2 separate regions of the Homo sapiens genome follow, and region 2 is linked to region 1. Evidence: promoter capture Hi-C in human tissues and cell types (Jung and others, 2019). All regions are on one chromosome and are shown on one strand. The core of a region is centred on a gene start or on the middle of the fragment in contact, and the rest is flanking DNA. Distances in the headings are between cores, read along the strand shown. Region 1 holds the start of PRR19 (proline rich 19). Region 2 holds the start of LYPD3 (LY6/PLAUR domain containing 3).

Region 1 (4,007 bases), core at 1-2,500:
TCGGCTCATTGCAATCTCTGCTTCCCAGGTTCTGGCGATTCTCCTGCCTCAGCCTGCCAAGTAGCTGGGACTATAGGCATGTGCCACCATGCCCAGCTAATTTTTGTATTTTTAGTAGAGACAGGATTTCGCCATGTTGGCCAGGGTGGTCTCGAACTCCTGGCCTCAGGTCATCCGCCTGCCTTGGCCTCCCAAAGTGCTGGGATTACAGGCGTAAGCCACCACACCCTGCCTAGAGTCTCTCACTTTAAACCAAGCCCCAGGCTCTGTTGCTCATGCTGAGGTGGGCGGACTGCTTGAGCCCAGGAGTTCAAGACCAACCTGCGCAACAGGGCAAAACCCCATCTCTACAAAAATTACAAAAATTAGCCAGGTGCATGGTGATGTGCACCTGTAGTCCCAGCTACTCGGAGACTAAGGTGGGAGGATCACTTGAGCCCAGGAGGCAGAGGTTGCAGTGAACAGAGATCATACCACTGCACGCCAGCCTGGGTGACAGAGCAAGACCCTGTCTCAAAAACCAACCAACCAACCAACCAACCAACAAAACAAACCAAGCCCCATAGAAGCAAGACTCACTTCATGAAAATCCAGTCTGCTTGAGCCATGCATTGAATCAATGGCATTACAGTTGAAACTTATTTTGATGAAACCCATTACAGTTGGACATGCTTTGTGGAAAGATATTATTATGATTGAGTCCTCTTTGTGGAGTGCCATTAGAGTTGCCCTTCGCTTCCTGTAAAGTGACTATAGCTTTGTGTAAACCCAACAGGGCTGCGCACTACTTAAAGCAAACAAGAAAGAGCCTCACTTTAGGCAAGCCTATGGCAGGAAAGCCTCATTTTAGGTCTTAGTACATTATACACAAATCCAATCTGATAAAACCAAGGCATACATTTCTTTCTCAATAGAATGTTGCACCTTACACCAAGATTCTCAGAGCCTCGGGCTGCCTGAGGCCAATCTGGGTACTCTCATAATACCTCACCTGGCCTGGGTTCTGGTCCAGATGTGTCAGCATGGACACAGGGCTGGATGGGGCAGGGGGAGAGGGACTGCCCTCACCTCGCACTGGTGCATGAGCTGGACCAAGGAGTCCCCGATGAAGACGACTTCGGGTTCCTTATCTTTGCTGTCAGCCACGAACCGATGGTGCTGCGGGAGCGCGCGAGAGGGAGTCAATGGCATGCACGCTCCAGGGCCCGCCCCGCCCTGCTCCCTTAGGCAGCGCCTCCTCAACTGCCCTCAGTTTCCCAATCAGGTAGTGAGAGTGGCACGAACCAGCCGTTCTCCTGAGCCACCCCCCGCGCCCCCGGACTCCTCAATATCCCAGGTGGGAACGCTCACCAGGGACATCCAGCGCCCGTCGCCCTGTACGTCCTGCACCGGCGTGGGCTTGCTGGCTGGGTTCTCCTCTCCACTCATCTTGGCGCCGCAGCTCCTGCAGGATGAGCGAGTCGGGTCGGCCCGGGAGTGTTCCGAACGGAGCTGGCTCCGCCACGCCCACTCCTACCCCTCGCGGCAACAAAGGACCGTCCCAACGCTAGCACACCCGCGGAGGACGAAGGCCGATACAGGGCGCCGCCTCCTCTCCAGGGACGGAAGCCTTCACTTAGGAGGTAGGTGGAATCAGGAACCTTCGCTTCCCCCACGACGGCCGCACAGTGGGCTCGCCCGGCGCTTCCCGCTCGGGCCGCTGACTCCCAGGCCGCGCACCCGGCACGGGGTGGGGGGAGGGAGAGGCGAGACCATCCAGCTCCCGAGGCGGGGAGGAGGGAGAAACCACCCACCGGTCACGGGGAGGGGCGAACTACCTGAAGAGTCGAGAGTGGGCGGGGAAAATCTAGCCCTCTGTCTAGCAAATGGGAAGAAACCATTTGCTGTACAGAGTGAAATGTGCGGAAGGGACCACCTACTGTTGCGGGGGGGGGGGTGACCCATTCACGTGGTGGGGGGAGGGGAGCGAGTGGACGAGTCCATTCTTATATTCCCTTGAAGGGGTGGCTCGAATGCACCTGGCTGGGGGGGACGCTCCTATTTTCTACTGATGTGGGGGACAGAAAAGGAAGATGACAAAATGTGAAAATTCGAGGCTCCCTTCTAAGGAGCCACTCTAAGGCCGCGCCAGGGCTTTAGTGAGCCTATCTACTCGTGGGCTTCCCCTACTCAAAACACCGTGGGTGTGTGTGTGTGTGTGTGTGTGTGTGTGTGTGTGTGTGTGTTGAAATCTAAAGTACATATCTTTGCATTCAAGACATCACAGGACCCCTACTCAAAACACCGTGTGTGTGTGCGCGCGCGTGGCATAACATATAAACTACATATCTTTGCATTCAAGACACCATAGGACCTGCTTGGAGGGTAGAAGAAGGTGCAGAAAGAGAAAGGAAATTAGAGACGCCTCCAGGGCTCAGGTCCAGTCTGGCGTCCCTCCGGCAGATCATCTTGCAGATCTGCAGCCTCTACACTCTCTCTAAACCCACAGGCCAACTGGGTATGTCTGAGCTCTGAAACCTACATCCATAGCCAAGGCCACCTAGGGTCGCGCCTCTCCCCCAACGCTGCCCCAAATTAATCTCAGACCTCAGTGTCTTCTCAGATCTCCCTCTTCTCTGGGACCAGGTGGGGGGCTCACTCCCTGCTAAACGTCCTGGTCATGTTCTTGTAGCCTCACTCCAGGTGGGACCTTCCCATGTATTCATTCCTTCGAGGTGGATTGATACTGAGACAGAGATGAGTGTTATTCATTGTGTTTATGTTTTCAATCCACTTTCCTGGAACTGGGCCGGGCACACAGTGGTTATTCCACAAGTGCTTGCTGAATGAGTAGTAAATGAGTGGGTCAGCTCCTGACCTTGTCCCAATGTGTTTAGGGAGACAGATCCAGACACAGAGGTGTAGGGGTGTCAAAGTTGTGTTTGAGGGAGAGACAGGGACCTCTGGGGAGGAAGAGGAGAAGGACTCTGAGGACTATGGGTTTCCTAGGAGTAGTATCTCAGCTGGGTCTGAAAGATAATGAAGAATGGGCAAGCAGAAAGAAAAGACACAGGTAATCACTTTCTTATTAGGTTTGGGGAATATCGTGGAATAGCTTGATTTTAAAGTCTGAGGGAGGCCAGCATGGAGGCTCATGCCTGTAATCCCAGCACTTTGGGAGGCTGACATGGTCGGATCACTTGAGGTCAACCAGCCTGGCCAACATGGCGAAACCACGTGTCTACTAAATATACAAAAAAAAAAAAAAAATTAGCTAGGCATGGCAGCACACGCCCGTAGTCCCAGCTACTTGGGAAGGCTGAGGCAGGACAATTGCTTGAGTCTGGGAGGCAGAGGTTGCAGTGAGCTGAGATCGCGCCACTGCAGCCCAGCCTGGGCAACAGTGGCCCAGCTTGGGTGACACAGCGAGACTCTGTCTTAATTACAAAAATAAACAAACAAATAAAGTCTGAGGGAGCCAGGTGCAGTGATGCATGCCTGTAGTCCCAGCTACTGGGGAGGCTGAGGTGCGAGGATCGCTTGAACCCAGAAGTTTGAGACCAGCCTGGGTAACACAGTGAGACCCTGTCTAAAAAAAAAAAAAAAAAAAGGCTGGGCGCGGTGGCTCACGCCTGTAATCCCAGCACTTTGGGAGGCCGAGGTGGGCAGATCACGAGGTCAGGATCGAGACCATCCTGGCTAACACGGTGAAACCCCGTCTCTACTAAAAATACAAAAAATTAGCGGGGCGTGGTGGCAGGCGCCTGTTGTCCCAGCTACTTGGGAGGCTGAGGCAGGAGAATAGCGTGAACCTGGGAGGCAGAGCTTGCAGTGAGCCGAGATGGCACCAGTGCACTTCAGCCTGGGAGACAGAGCGAGACGCCGTCTCAAAAAAAAAAAAAAAAAAAAAAAGGGCAAGTGCCTGTAGTCCCAGTTAGTTGGGAGGCTGAGGCAGGAGGATAGCTTGAGCCTGGGAGATGAGGTGGCAGTGGCCCATGATGGTGTCACTGCACTCCAGGTTGGGTGAC
Region 2 (4,007 bases), core at 661-3,160, 1.2 Mb after region 1:
CCAGGCCGCGGTCATTCTTGCCGGGGAGTCCCGAACCGCAACCCCGCACTGCCAGCGAGAATTGTCCGTGGACTAGGGAGAGGGACAAGGGCGGGATTAGCTGTGGGCGTGGTCTCAGATGGGGCGTGGCCCAGAGTTGGGTAGGGTCTGGGAGGGGCGGGGCCTCAAATAGGCCAACACCACAGGACCGACAGGCAGGAATTGGCGGATGGACGCCCCCAAAGAGCCGCTCAGAGCGGAAAGAACGACCGAAGCAGGGAGGAGCGGGGTCACGGAACGGGGGCGGAACCTCAAAGAGCTGAGTCGGAGGAGACAGCCTGGTTGACAGGCAGGGATGGGGAGGTCTCATTGGTGGAGCAGAAAAAGTGCATAGGACGTGACCTCGTTCCAAACCCGAGCTCTCCCCGTCCGCCCCACCCAGTTCTCAACTCTCTGCTCCTCGCGCTTGTAATTGTTAATAGAGAAGGCCTGGCCTGCAAGGCTGTGTCGTAGGGTCCCGGCCAGGCTGAAAGGGAGGGGTGGGGCCGCGTTAAAGGGGCGTGGCCAGATCCAGAAAGGACTATAAGGAGGCGGGGCTGGGCCGGAGGAGCCTGCAGTGGTGTGCGTGGCCCGGGGGTCCCCACTCACTGGTCTCCACCGCCCCCACGGCCTCGGTGCAGACGTCCACGCCCGGCGCGCACTTCACTGTCTTCATCTTGTTCGGGGAGCATCCGTCATCTGCTTTCTGCACGCAGCTGTAGCACTCCAGGGCCTGCGCTCCTGGGGGAGCGGAGCCGAATAGACCTGAGCCCTCCTTGCTAAAGCGTCCACCCCCAAGGAGAAATAGTCCTTCCCATGCCCTCTGTCCCGGGATTAGACAGTCTTATTGCACACACTTTTCCAGGGCAGGAGTAGGGAAAAGCTTTCCACAAATCTGGAAGCACGGGAATCACTGGACCCTTTTCCTTCACACCCACTATGCCAACTGTGGGCACATCCTTCCGACAGCCCTGTATGCCCACTGTAGGCGATCCCCGCCATGAAGCCCCTCATCCCGGGGTAGGAAGGATACCTCCTCACGGTTTTCTGCTCAGAATGAGAGAACTTTTCCCACAGTGTGTGGGAGAACTTTTCCCACAGTAGACTGTGCTCAGTGAGGGATCCCTTCCCACAGCCCCCTTCTGCTCAAATGAGAGAACACTACCCACAGCTTCTCTGCCCAGGACAGGGAACACTTTTTTCTTTTTTTCTTTTTTTCTTTTTTTTTTTTTTGAGACGGAGTCTCGCTCTGTCGCCAGGCTGGAGTGCAGTGGCGCAATCTCGGCTCACTGCAACCTCCCCTCCTGGATTCAAACGATTCTCCTGCCTCAGCCTCCCGAGTAGCTGGGACTACAGGCTCGCGCTACCGCGCCCAGCTAATTTTTGTATTTTTAGTAGAGACAGGGTTTCACCATGTTGGCCAGGCTGGTCTCGATCGTTTGACCTCATGATCCGCCTGCCTCGGCCTCCCAAAGTGCTGAGATTACAGGCATGAACCACCGCGCCCGGCCTAGGAACAGGGGACTTCTTTCTGCAGCTTCAGGATAGGAAAATTTTGCCCACAGCTCCCCTTGTCCGTGGTGGGGAACCCTTCCTACGGCCCATGGTGGAGGACCCTTCCCTCTGCCTCCCTTGCTTAGGATGGGGGAACTTTGCCCACAGTGCCCTCTGCTTATGTGGGGATCCTTCCCACAGCCTTCTCTGTACGGGGCCAGAGGAGCCTCCTCCCTAAGAGCCCCCACTCTACCCCCTCCACCTCTCCGGGCAGCAGACCCACCTCCGCGAAGCAGCAGCAGCAGCAGCCAGCCTGCAGTCCAGATCATGGCCTGGGCACCTGCTTTCCTGGCGGGGTCCATGGCTCCGTCCTGCTCCCTTGGCGTCCCCCCTGGATGTGCCGCCTCCGAGCTCGGGCCCTCTTACCTGAGCCCAGGATGAGTAACCTCGCCCCAGGCAACCCCAGCCTTGCCCAACCGGGCCAACTCAGCGTCGGCTGTGGGGCGGGGCCCCGCCCCTAGGCGCGTCATCCAAGGGAGAGCGGTCCCTGCCCTGTGAAGTTGCCAAGGAGGGAAAGGGTGGGAGCTGAGGTTCCCTGACAGCTCGCGGGAGAAAGTCTGTGTGTGTTTGGAGTGGGAGAGTAGTGGGGCTTAAAGACAGGCTGGGGCTACTCGACATTCAGTGTTCGGTAACTGTTAAATGAGCATCTACAGTGTGCCCGGCTTTGGTCTAGGTAATGCTGGAGATGAAGACAGAACCAGTGCCTGTCCTGGCAGAGCTCACAGTCTGATGGGGGAGACAGATGCTAATCAAATAATCGTACAAATTGGTGTTTACCAAAGAGACTAAGACACTGAAGGAAAAAGTGTAGTGATACAAGGAGATGTGCAGTCTAGAAGTGGGGGCTGGTCGGTGAGGGCTTCCTTGAGGTTATCTGAGATGCAACCTCAAGGGCATGCAGGATGTAGCCAGCTAGAGCAGGTCAAGAGAGGGACACAGCCCTTTACAAGCAGAGGGAACAGCACGTGGGAGCACCTGGAGGTAGGAGGTAGGATGGACCATTCAAACATGGAAAGGAGAGCAGTGCTCCTGAGCTCAGAAGTCCATGAGAGAAGGGCAGGAACTGAGATGAAAGAGTCAGGCAGAGGCCGAGACACTCAGGGCATCAGAGGCCCCGACAAGAGATTTGGATTAATTTTGAGAATAGTAGAGAACCTTTAAGAGGGTCTAAATGAGCTGGAGGACATAATAGATTTGCTTCCTAATATGATCAACCTGAGAAATAGTGCAGCTAGCCATCAAGAAGTAAATGGAGGCCGGGCGCGGTGGCTCATGCCTGTAATCCCAGCAATTTGGGAGGCCGAGCTGGGTGGATCACTTGAGATCAGGAGTTTGAGACCAGCCTGGGCAACATGGCGAAACCTCATCTCTATTAAAAAAAAATAATAAATTTAAAAAAATTAGCCAGGTGCAGTGGCGTGCACCTGCTGTCCCAGCTACTCGGAAGGGTAGGGCAGGAGAATCACTTGAGCCCAGGAGGTGGAGGTTGCAGTGAGCTGAGATCACGCCACTGCACTCCAGCCTGGGCAACAGAGTGAGACCCTGTCTCAAAAAAAAAAATTTAAAAATTTAAAAATTAAAAAAAAGTAAATGGATCTGAGAGTAGGATATATGATTTTAAAAAAGGAAAAAGAAAAAGAAGTGAATGGCAAAAGAGAGTGGTTGGTTCGGCCAATGGAATACTACACAGCAATAGAAAAGATCCAACACCTGATATATGCAGCAACATATCTCAAAAACTTTGTGTTGGGGCCAGGCACAGTGGCTCACACCTGTAATCCCAGCACTTTGAGACACCAAGGTGGGAGGATCACTTGAACCCAGGGGTTTTGAGACCAGGCTGTGCAACATAGTGAGATCCCATCTCATTTTATTTTAAAAAAAGAAAAAACTTGGTGTTGAGTTTAGAAAGCCTTAAACAAACAAACAAAACATACTGTGTAACTGAATATATATGAAGTTTCAGAACAGACAAAACTAACCAGTGGTGATAGAAATCAGAACACATGTTACCTTTGGGAGGGCATGGCCCCAGAAGGAGCAACAGGGAGGAGCCCCCACGATCTTCATCTAGGTGACAGCTGCATGTGTGTACAGATACGTTGAGAATCACTGACTCAGGCCTGTCACTGGACGTATGTTATTCTTCAATAAAAACAAGGTAAAGAATGTCACTGTGGACTCTGTGTAAAAAAGGAAAATGACTCTAGAAGGGGTGAGAGAGAAGGCCAGGAAACCAACAGGGGGCCGTGTAGTTTTCCATGGAAGAAAGAGAAAAACAGCCCCTAACAGCTGGGAGTTGGCCTGACACACATAGTGAGGCCATGGAGTTCAACTGCGCCTAGATAATTTCACAGAGCACCAACCTGGACAAGGCCACACTGCGACAGTAAAGGATCAAGAAACAAATCAATAGCCTGGGCAACACAGCGAAA

The links. The method cuts DNA at HindIII sites, captures the fragments that hold promoters and counts their contacts. A contact is called where the count stands out against the background at its distance.
Region 2: a contact is called between the fragment with the promoter of LYPD3 here and the fragment with the promoter of PRR19 in region 1, in 1 of the 25 tissues and cell types used here (thymus).

The regions. Positions count from the first base shown.
Region 1 is chr19:42,300,882-42,304,888 of GRCh38, forward strand. It overlaps PRR19 (proline rich 19), which reads left to right and starts at 1,251. Exons shown (of 3, transcript NM_199285.3): 1 at 1,251-1,622. PAFAH1B3 (platelet activating factor acetylhydrolase 1b catalytic subunit 3) reads right to left here and starts at 1,743. Exons shown (of 5, transcript NM_002573.4): 1 at 1,351-1,743; 2 at 1,069-1,158. The coding sequence starts at 1,428. RefSeq lists enhancers at 1,218-1,267, 1,348-1,477, 1,430-2,084 and a silencer at 1,638-1,857. The HindIII fragment of the contact is 37,239 bases long and covers 1-4,007 here.
Region 2 is chr19:43,463,698-43,467,704 of GRCh38, forward strand. LYPD3 (LY6/PLAUR domain containing 3) reads right to left here and starts at 1,911. Exons shown (of 5, transcript NM_014400.3): 1 at 1,796-1,911; 2 at 628-759; 3 at 1-72. The coding sequence starts at 1,874. RefSeq lists an enhancer at 132-663. The HindIII fragment of the contact is 17,258 bases long and covers 23-4,007 here.